Regions from separate parts of the Homo sapiens genome. Here region 2 is linked to region 1. Evidence: promoter capture Hi-C in 16 types of primary human blood cells and fetal thymus (Javierre and others, 2016). All regions are on one chromosome and are shown on one strand. The core of a region is centred on a gene start or on the middle of the fragment in contact, and the rest is flanking DNA. Distances in the headings are between cores, read along the strand shown.

What was found. The method cuts DNA at HindIII sites, captures the fragments that hold promoters and counts their contacts. A CHiCAGO score of 5 or more calls a contact.
Region 2: a contact is called between the fragment with the promoter of ACAP3 here and a fragment that was not itself captured in region 1, in 1 of 17 cell types (erythroblasts). The highest score is 6.8, in erythroblasts.

The regions. Positions count from the first base shown.
Region 1 is chr1:1,616,689-1,621,444 of GRCh38, forward strand. The region is part of intron 2 of MIB2 (MIB E3 ubiquitin protein ligase 2); the gene reads left to right. Among named protein-coding and RNA genes, the nearest start is that of MIB2, 3.6 kb to the left of the region's middle. The HindIII fragment of the contact is 1,337 bases long and covers 662-1,998 here.
Region 2 is chr1:1,304,816-1,309,571 of GRCh38, forward strand. ACAP3 (ArfGAP with coiled-coil, ankyrin repeat and PH domains 3) reads right to left here and starts at 3,115. Exons shown (of 24, transcript NM_030649.3): 1 at 2,954-3,115. The coding sequence starts at 3,000. It overlaps PUSL1 (pseudouridine synthase like 1), which reads left to right and starts at 3,782. Exons shown (of 8, transcript NM_153339.3): 1 at 3,782-3,905; 2 at 4,100-4,157; 3 at 4,271-4,458; 4 at 4,639-4,756. The coding sequence starts at 3,829. RefSeq lists silencers at 2,664-2,883, 2,934-3,103, 3,144-3,823, 4,044-4,113, 4,144-4,283 and 2 more. The HindIII fragment of the contact is 38,674 bases long and covers 1-4,756 here.

The DNA.
Region 1 (4,756 bases), core at 80-2,579:
CAGAGAGGCTGTGTTTGTGTCTGAGCATGCATGCGAGTGGAGGGGAGTGGTGAGTAATCCCGCGTCTCCTCTCTGAGTTCGGAACCCATGGAGGAAGAAAGCAGAGGTGCCAGACAGGCCTCTGATAGGCACCTGCAGGATTGGGGCAGAGCGGCCGCAGCGCAGGAGCGCCGGCAAGCCTGGCCCTTCCCGGGAGGCCCCCTTTGTCCGGTTCCACCCTGGCCTGTTGCCTCACATGCAACAAGTGTCTGAATGTGGCGCTCTCCTGGCCGAGGGCAGCCCTGGGCGGTGAGTGGGATGACACCCCAGCCTGCAGGGTGCCTGTAGGTCTCCACCCAGATGGGCAGGATTGGAGGTGGCCGCAGCGCTCGTGGGCTTTCCCTCAGCAGGTGTCTCCATGCTGGCCTCCCCGCCTCAGGGCTTCATCCCACTCCGTGGGCCTGATCTCCCTGGGGCACCTGGGATGTCCATCTGCGTTAGCTGGAGCTACTCCATGGCCTGTGGCGTGCCACACACAGCGGCATTTCGGTGTCATTAGGCACAGCTGGAGGTGCAAGGAGGAGGGCAGCCTCATGTCCAGTTCCATGTAACTTGCTTCTTCTGAATAAAGGCAATTTGCTAACTTTCTCGCTAAATAGGATTTGGTTTCTATGGCTTTTAAAGCTTCTCCGATAAAATACTTGCAATAAGGGAACTCTCTCCTCCTACACTCTCCTGACTGATGGTTCGGAAGTCCTCCTGCCCTCTGAGAGCTTGCAGTTTCTTGTGAAAAAGAGAAACTAAGCAGCAATAGAACAGACCCGGTGTCTGCTTGCGTGGTTAAGACGGTAAATGCTAAATGTGTGACACTGCCTTTAGAAACCATTTTCTCCAGCCTGGCTTGCTGGCTGCCCGTCTGGTTTGCTGTGTTGTGTCTCCAGTGGCTTTAGCTTCCAACAGGAAAGCCTGGTAGCCGAGCGAATCTGTGACCCAGGAAGTAGCAATTAAATGCCTGGGACGCTGCCTCGAGGCTGGTGTGTGCTCTGAGGTAAGTTCCGATTTGCCAAAGCACATCTGTCGATCTGTCGCCCGAGTCTTCACACCCTGACTGCCTCCATCATTTTAAACATCGGGAGCAGTTGCCTGCAGCGGGGTTCAGATGCCAGCCAGGGGCACAGCCTGTGAACTGTGGGTAGATGGCAAAGTCTAGCATTTCTGGCAAAGGAAAAAACATTTGGTAACTCTCTGAGTAAATTTCTGACTGAGATGAAGATACCCATTGTGGGGCAGCATCCTGAAGCGGAAGCCTGGGCTGTATGTTTCCAAGAGGAGGAGCAGGAGTGGCCACAGCCATGTACGCCACGATGTACACCAGGGGCTGCGTGGCCACAGCTCTGGTCTGCTGGTCTGCTCCCTGGAGCCCCTCCACCAGTGCTGGGCTGTGGCTGTGGCTGTCTCTGGTTTGTCTTTCTGGGAAACCTTGGCCAGGTTGGTGTGAGGGCAGGGCTAGCCTTGGACATCTGCACTTCCCATAGCAGCCTCTGGCCCAGAGCTCACCCGCTGTGGGCAGGTGATCAGGGTGATCAGGTCCCACGGGTCCCCTCCTCTGCACCTGGAGCCTTGTGGGTGTAGAACAGAAAAATAGGAGGGGGCAACCCAGAGGCCTCCTGCTCTCCAGGAAGGAATGGATGCTGGACAGGTCCAGGGTGGAGGCAGAGGGAGTGAGGGGCCCTTGGGGGAACATCTGTCCTAGAGGGCTTGATTTCCAGGCTGCCCACCCCACTCCTACCCCTAATCTGGTGTTCCTCACCTGCCTCCAGGAAGTCCTCACCTGAGGTCTGCAGCGGGTGTGCCAAGCGCCAGCCCCACATCACCTGCTCCCAGGCCTGCCCAGGGGATGGGTCCTGTGGCCAGTACCCTCGGGGTCAGCTTGACCCAGACCCAGCCCAGAACCTGTCCCATGGCCCCAGGAGGACAGGATGGTCAGGGAAGCCCAAGGGATGAGCCCTTTTGTCCACAAGCTTCCCTCTGACATGGGCAGGCTGCTTGTGCGACCCCACAGCCCCCACCTCTCATGAACAATGGGAATGGGGCAGGCCCCTCGATGCTGGGCTGGATCCTCCCGCCCCTAAGCAGGTGCACTCTGTCCCCTTTGAGAAGAGACCAAGGGATACAAGTGCTGGGTCCTGGCGGGGTGCCCCTCCTCCCTGCCTGTGGGGGTCTCATTACTGCCTCCTGCCCCCACCACAAACACCCCCTAGAGAGGCCTTCGGAGGCAGGTACTGAGCCCTGGGGCCAGGGTGCCAGGAGCCCAGTGGCAGGTCTTGGGTGACTGCTGGCCCTGGGGCAATGGTGAGAAAGCCAGGCAGGCAGCTGCAGGAAGGAGCTGAGGAGAAAGGCGGCAGAGCCTCAAAAGCTGCTGGCGGCCGGGCACAGTGGCTCACACCTGGAATCCCAGCACTTTGGGAGGCCGAGGCGGGCGGATCACGAGGTCAGGAGATCGAGACCATCCTGGCTAACACGGTGAAACCCCCGTCTCTACTAAAAAATAGAAAAAATGAGCCAGGTGTGGTGGCAGACGCCTGTAGTCCCAGCTACTCGGGAGGCTGAGGTAGGAGAATGGCGTGAACTTGGGAGGCGGAGCTTGCAGTGAGCTGAGATTGCGCCACTGCGCTCCAGCCTGGGCGACAGAGCGAGATTACGTCTCAAAAAAACCAAAACTGCTGGCCCCTCCAGAGGGTCCAGGATACTGAGCTCCTGAGCCTGGGATCCACGCGCATGTGGTCTGTCTGCACACTGGCACCGCAGAAGGGTTGGCAGGCGGGCAGGCATGGCTGGAGACCCCGCTCAGATGAGGCGGCCACTCCAGGGCAGTGCCATGCTGGACAGAAGGGACTGCCTTGGAAGTGGGACAGACCCCAGACCCTTGGGGTGGGGGCCCTGCAGGGGAGGCCTTGAGGAGGCGCCGGGTCTACAGGCCCCTGTGTGCTCACATCCCAGCCCCCGGGGAGAGGTGGGAGTGGGTGGGCGCACCCAGCTCCCCTGTCCAGGCTCGTCCCCCTTGTTGGGGCAGCCCTCAGCAAGTGGGGGGCTGGTTCCAGGCACAAGAAGTGAGGCCAGGGAGGAAGCCCTGCCTGTGTTCAGCCCAGTTGTGCCCCAACTCAGGTGGGCTTCCATGAGGGACAGCCTCTGGGAGGGTGGGGGTTTGTGGGCCAGGGCTGGAGAGCTGCCTGGCTGTGCTAAAAATACCGGGCATGCTGCAGACAGGTGCCAGTCTGGGGCACAGGCTACCCTGTCTCAGGCTGATGGCCTTGGCACTCCACCCCACTGCCCCTGTGACGCGGGGGCCGCCAAGGCTTGGTCTTGATTCCCAGAGGCCCTGCTGGTGACCTCCCCGACATCTCTGCCCTCTGCCCATCCCCCCAAGGGCAAGATTTGCCAAAGCACAGGACACATTGGCTCACACATGGGGCACCCTGCCCCTGTCTTTTTGGAAAGGTCCAATGGCATATGGCCAGCGGGTCGGGCAGGTGTGGCCGCTGGCCTGGGCTAAGCTGGCTGTGGCTGAGAGTCTGGGCGCAGAGACAGAAGGCGCCCCCTGCTGCAGAAGGATCACAGTGTGGGCTCATGGCATTGGCTTTTTTGCGGTCCCAAGTCCTTCATCTCCATTGCCGGGCCCATCTCGGGGGTCGGCAGATGCGTGTCCCCTACTAGCAAAGACCTCCAGTCGGTTCTGCGGCTGCCTGTGATGAGCCCTGCTCTGGCTAAGTGGAGGTGTTTGGCAGGGAGGAGTCCCCGGCTTAGTGTGATTCCAGCTGTGGCCGATTCTGGTGGGATCCTGGCAAGGAGGAGGTTGCGTGTGGATCTGGTGGAGGTGGACGGCCTGGCAGGGGGTGGGGTCTGCAACCCTAAGGAGCAGTGCCCCTCTCACTTGTCCCCCCGCCAGCAGACTGCTGCGTCGGCCTCCCCGGCCTGTGCCATTCTGTGGCGAAGGTCCCTGTGTAGAGGAGGCTGGAGTGGGGGAGCTCAGCCCAGGCCATGCCTCACCCTTCTTGGGTGCTCCATGGGCAAAAGCTGAGGTCAGTTTGTGGATCCTGGGAGCAGGAACCCTGCAGAGCCTGCCCCCCAGCTGGTGGCAGAGCAGGCAGTGGGGAGCTGCTGGGGCAGGAGGGAGTGACCTCCCTCCAAGACAGCCCCCAGTGGGGATGGGAGGGTCTGCAGAGATCTGGAGAGTCAAGTGTCATGACCCAGGTGGGGCCATGGAGCTGGGCTGGCCGGTGGAACTGTGTCCACCTGGACATGCTCTGGGTGAGGCGCAGTCAGCGCTGGGATGGCTAGAAGCGGCCTGTGCTGGGCGGGTCCTCGGGACACAGGGGCTGCCGCTGTCACAGAAGCCTGGCACAGATTCTCTCTGGTTCTTATGTTTCATTCATGCAGCCATTCAGTCAAAGCTGAAGCTGGTGGGGTCCTGGCCAAACAGGACGCAGCAGTGCACCACCTGGGGGCTGCCCTCAGAGGCCCCGCGAGGGGAATAGTGCCACAGGGGCCCATGGGGAGGGCCTGTGGGTCACCCTGGGTGGTGGGTGGGCTCCTGGCTCCGCGGGGCCTCCGAGGGCAAGGTGGGGTTTCTCTGGCTGCCGGCTGTGGAAGCCGCTCATGCGGAGGCCCAGCCGGGAGGCTGCAGGAGGCCGTGGGGAGGGCAGAGCCAGCTGCCTTCCCTGATGGCTGTGGAGCTGCCCACGGGACCCCTCTCCTTGTCTGGGGCTCACTGGTGCCA
Region 2 (4,756 bases), core at 1,865-4,364, 310 kb before region 1:
CCTCGGCGGGAGAATCCCCGGAAGACAGGAGGCAGATGGATCGGGCACGTGACCACCCCCTCCGGGAGCAGGCAACAGGGAAACAGGGCCAGGATCCCGGCAGCCCTCCACACAATCGGCTCACTGGCTGTCCGGGCCATCTGGCCTCCTGGGGATTGGGCACCACAGGGCCCGGGCTGGGGCCAGGACTCCAGGTCTAGGGCAGGGGTCCAGGAGCAGAGGCCATCAGGGCCTACAGTCCCTCGTACCTTGCTACCCTGACCGGTGTCCCAGGCCTCGGGGGAGGGGCCTGTGGTTTACATGGGGCGTGTCCTCAATTAGGAGCTGGAGCTGCAGGCACCAGGCTGCCCCAGCCAGGGACCTTGAAGGGTCCCAGCCACCCCAGAAGGACACTAGGTCCTCTCTGAGCAGCCCTCTCTTGTTCCCAAGGGGCTAAGAGGACTCTGAATCCCGAAGCAGGGGGCGATGGAGGGAATCTCGCTGTGGTGTCCGCTGACCGCCAGTGCCCAGCCTGCAGCCCCTGGACCCTGACCTCTACCTCAGCTGGAGGATCCCAGAACAGAGAAGGGACCATCCTCCCAGGAGAAGGCAGCAGAGAGCGCCACACCCCAGGAGTTGCAGCCACCCCTGAGCAGGGCCGGATGCAGAGACAGCTGCACCCAGAGCTGCCGCCCTCGGGTTTGGGGCGCCCGTGTCCCTGGAGAGCCAGCAAGGGGGGATGGCTGCACCCAGGAGCTCACGGACGTGCTCATGGGGACAGGGTGGGCCCTGGCAGAGGCCCCGAGAGCCGCTCCCACTGCTGGGAGCCCCTCAGCTCTCCCTTCCTCAGTCCTGGGGACCTAGGCCTCCTCTGCTGTGCTCAGCCCAGGATTTCCTCAGCAGCTTGGAGGACGGGGAGGAGGGTGAGGCTGCCCCCCAACCAAAGCCATGACTCAGCGCCTGAAGCCCCACCCAGGGGAGGGGCACACTGAACAGAGGCCAGGCGGTTCCCCTACACGGGCTCCCCTGGCCTCCGGCCCACTGCACCTGGGCTGCCACTAGGCCCTCCCCAGACCAGGAGGGTGCGGGCAGGGTCCCCCTCTCCCGGGCTGGGGCGACCAGGCTCCACGTTACAGACCACATCTTCCCGCCCACCCTGCCTGGCCCCCCAACCTGGCGGTAGGCCAGGAAACTCAAGTTACGCCCTTAGGGCCTGCCCCCAGGACAGCCTCAGGGAGCCCCTCGAACCCCAGTTAAATCACAGCCTAACCCCAAAACCCACTGGGCCAGGCCATTCTCATCTCCCCACTCCAGTCCATGCCCCACAGGGGTGAGGCACTTTCCCAGGGCAGTCACTCTACGGCACCTACTGCAGCCCCACAGCCCCCATAACTGGCTCCTGTAACAGGCTCCCATGAGAGCCGGTTACCAGAGAGAAGGCCCAGAGGTGAGTGGGTTCCAGCACCCCCACACGACTGGAAGAGGGCAGTACAGGGCCGTCTGCGTGGAGGAGGAGGTCCATTAGGCTTCTGACGGAGGGGCCAGGGAGAAGGTGGGTGCTTCAGCCAGGGTCCAGCCCCCAGCAGGGAGGCCATGCCCACACCTCCCCACAGCCCGGGTCCTCAATGCAGGATCCTAGGGTGCTCAAGTTATTCAACCCCTTTTCCCAGGTCAGCAACAGAAGATGGGAGAGCAGAGGATGGCCCCAGTTCCTCTGCCCAGGGCTGGCGGCCACTCTCCTGGCTGGCCCTGAGCCTCCCACTCCAAGGCTCCTGAGCCTCCTGGTGAGGGCTCCAGGGATACAGAGGCTCCCCGTGCCTCCACACACATGCTGACTTGCCAGCAGATCCCAAGAGACCCAGCGCGCGCGTGCACACCCACACATACACAATCAAGCACACATGTGCAAACATGTTCATGCACAAACATGCCTGCACACACTGGTACCACACATACATGTGTGTTCAAGGAGACACTGCACAGACACGCATCAACATGTGTACCTAGTGATGGAACACGCGTGTACAAGGTGATGTGTCTATTGCTGACATGGCTAACACAGTACGTGAACCCACACAGACAGGTGGTGTGTGCACACGCTTGCGTGCACTCATCGGCAGGCTACATGCAGAAGCAAGCACAGCCCCGTGGCACAGCTCATCCACACGTCCTGTGCAAGGCCTGGTGTCCGGAGGGAGGCACGCAGAGGGGCAAAGTTCACAAGAGCGCACCCCGCACGAGCTCGTGCAGAGGAGGGGGCCTCACGCAGGTGCGCACTTGGGGATGCAGAGAGGTTTCTTTGCCTCCATTGTCGTTTGCCAAATGTCCACCAAGCAAAGCCGATGCACACTTGTGCACACGTCTGTGAACATGTAGTTCACGCAGGTGTACACGCCTGCACGCCACGAATGATGGAAAACATGCAGACTCGGTGTGCACACAACCCCTACCCCCTACCTGACCTTCCCCGCCGCTCTTCTCGGCCGCCACCCCTCCAAGCCCCTGGGTCATTCAAACCACTTCACGTTTCCAAGCACCCTACCCCAGGCCTTAAACGCGGCTCCAGCTGCCTGTTCCCCACGCGCTGCTCTGGACACAGGATCAAGTCAGAGACCAGGGGCCGACGCCCCCACGGACCCAGACGACCCTGGCCAGAGCTGGACTGCAGGGCCCGGGAGGGGCTCAGCCCAGTGGAGGTGCAGACACAGAGCGGGGGCGGACGGTCCCGAGGTGCCCACGGCTGCCCACGCGCACGCCCTCCACCCGGGGCGGCCGCACAGGGCAGGAGCGTCTTTTGTTCCAACCCCCGGGGCATGGCGGGGCGGGGCCGCCGCTTTGTCCGAGGCCGGTCCTCCAGCCCCTCCCCGGCGGCCGCGGCCCGGCCCGGCGCTGACCTCCCCACCCCGCCGCCGGGCACAAAGGCGACAGCGACGCCCCCGGCCTGCGCCCACCCCGGCGGCCCCGGGCGGCGCACCTGAAGCGCGGGGAGTCCTTGACGCACTCCTCGAACTCCACGGTCATGGCTGCGGCGGCCGCGGCGCTCACTGGCACGAGGACCGCGGCGCCGAGCGGCAGCCGCGCCGGCCCGGACCGCTCGTCCCGCCCGCGCCGCCTCGGCGCCCGCCCGCCCCGGAATGAGGCCGCCGCGCCGCGCCCCGCCCCGCCTGTCACCGCCGGGGAGCGTCGCCAAAGTCAGCCGCCCGCGCGCACCGCCCGCTGTCACTGCCGGGGAGCGTCGCCAAGGTCCGCCGCCCGCGCGCGCCGCCCGCTGTCACCGCCGGGGAGCGTCGCCAAACGCCTCTCGCAGCGTCCAGGGACCACCCCGGTCCGGAAGTGAGGCGGGGCCTGCCACGGCCGTCTCCGGGGACAGTCGGTGGAAATGTGGGGCGCGGGGAGGGCGCGGGGAGGGCGCGGGCCCGCCCGCTCCAACCATCCCGGCCGTTGCGCAACTCAGGGCGTTTGCAAAAACCACGTCTGGGAGGACTTGGCCGCAACGCGGCGAACGGGCGCGCTCGGGGAGTGTGGGCGGCGGCGAATGAATGAGCGAGTGAACGAATGCACGCCCGCGAGAGCGCGGGGTGACCGCGTGGTTGGTGCGCGCCTCCCGGGGCGCCGCGATAGAGGTAGAGCGCCTGCGCTCGGCGGCGGGCCGGCACTTTGCAGCCGCTCCCTAAGCCCGGCCCCGCCTCCGCTCCCCGACTCTGGCCGCCGTGGCGCGGTGCCACCGCGCAGGCGCAAGAGCGGCCGGGGCCGGGGGGGAGGGGGGGGGGGCGTGACCAGGCCGCGTCCGCGCGCGCGCAGGATTCCTGCGCTGGAGGCCGCCTCTGACGCCACCGGCTGGGCTCCGCCATGAGTTCGGCGCCGGCCTCAGGCTCCGTGCGCGCGCGCTATCTTGTGTACTTCCAGTACGTGGGCACCGACTTTAAGTAGGTTTCCCAGGCGCAGCGGCGGGCGCCACGTGGGCCCGGGCGGAGGCGGGAAGGAGGGCGCGGGCGGGCAGGCGGATGTCTCTGGACGCGGGTTCCAAACGTTCGGGGAAGGAAGCGGCCCTGGCCTCAGACGGCGGCGGAGACCCCAGGGCAGGGCGCCCCCGGTAACCTCCGCCCGCTTCTGCCCGCAGCGGGGTCGCGGCCGTCAGGGGCACTCAGCGCGCCGTCGGGGTCCAGAACTACCTGGAGGTGCGCTCAGCCGGTCACGGGACGCCCGGTGAGGGGTAAGGGGGAGGCTCCCGCCCGCGCGTCCCCGGGGTCCGGCCTCGCTCACCCGCCCGCCCCGCGGCTCGGTCCTGCAGGAGGCCGCCGAGCGGCTGAATTCCGTGGAGCCGGTCAGGTTCACCATCTCCAGCCGCACGGACGCCGGGGTCCACGCCCTGAGCAACGCGGCGCACCTGGACGTCCAGCGCCGCTCAGGCCGGCCGCCCTTCCCGCCCGAGGTCCTGGCCGAGGCCCTCAACACACACCTGCGGCACCCGGCCATCAGGTGAGCCCGCGACCTAAGCAGCCCTGGGGCTGTGCCTTCCCGACTCCATCTGTCGCGGGCGGAGGCTGGAGATCTGGACAGACTTCCTTGTCTGGTCGGAGCTCGAGGGGGAAGGAGAGCCAATGTGACACCGCGGGCGGGCGGGGTCGTTCCTCCGGTGAGCTTTACCTGCCGCCATAGGGTCCTGCGGGCCTTCCGAGTGCCCAGCGACTTCCACGCTCGTCACGCAGCCACGTCCCGGACCTACCTGTACCGCCTGGCCACTGGCTGTCACCGGCGTGATGAGCTGCCGGTGTTT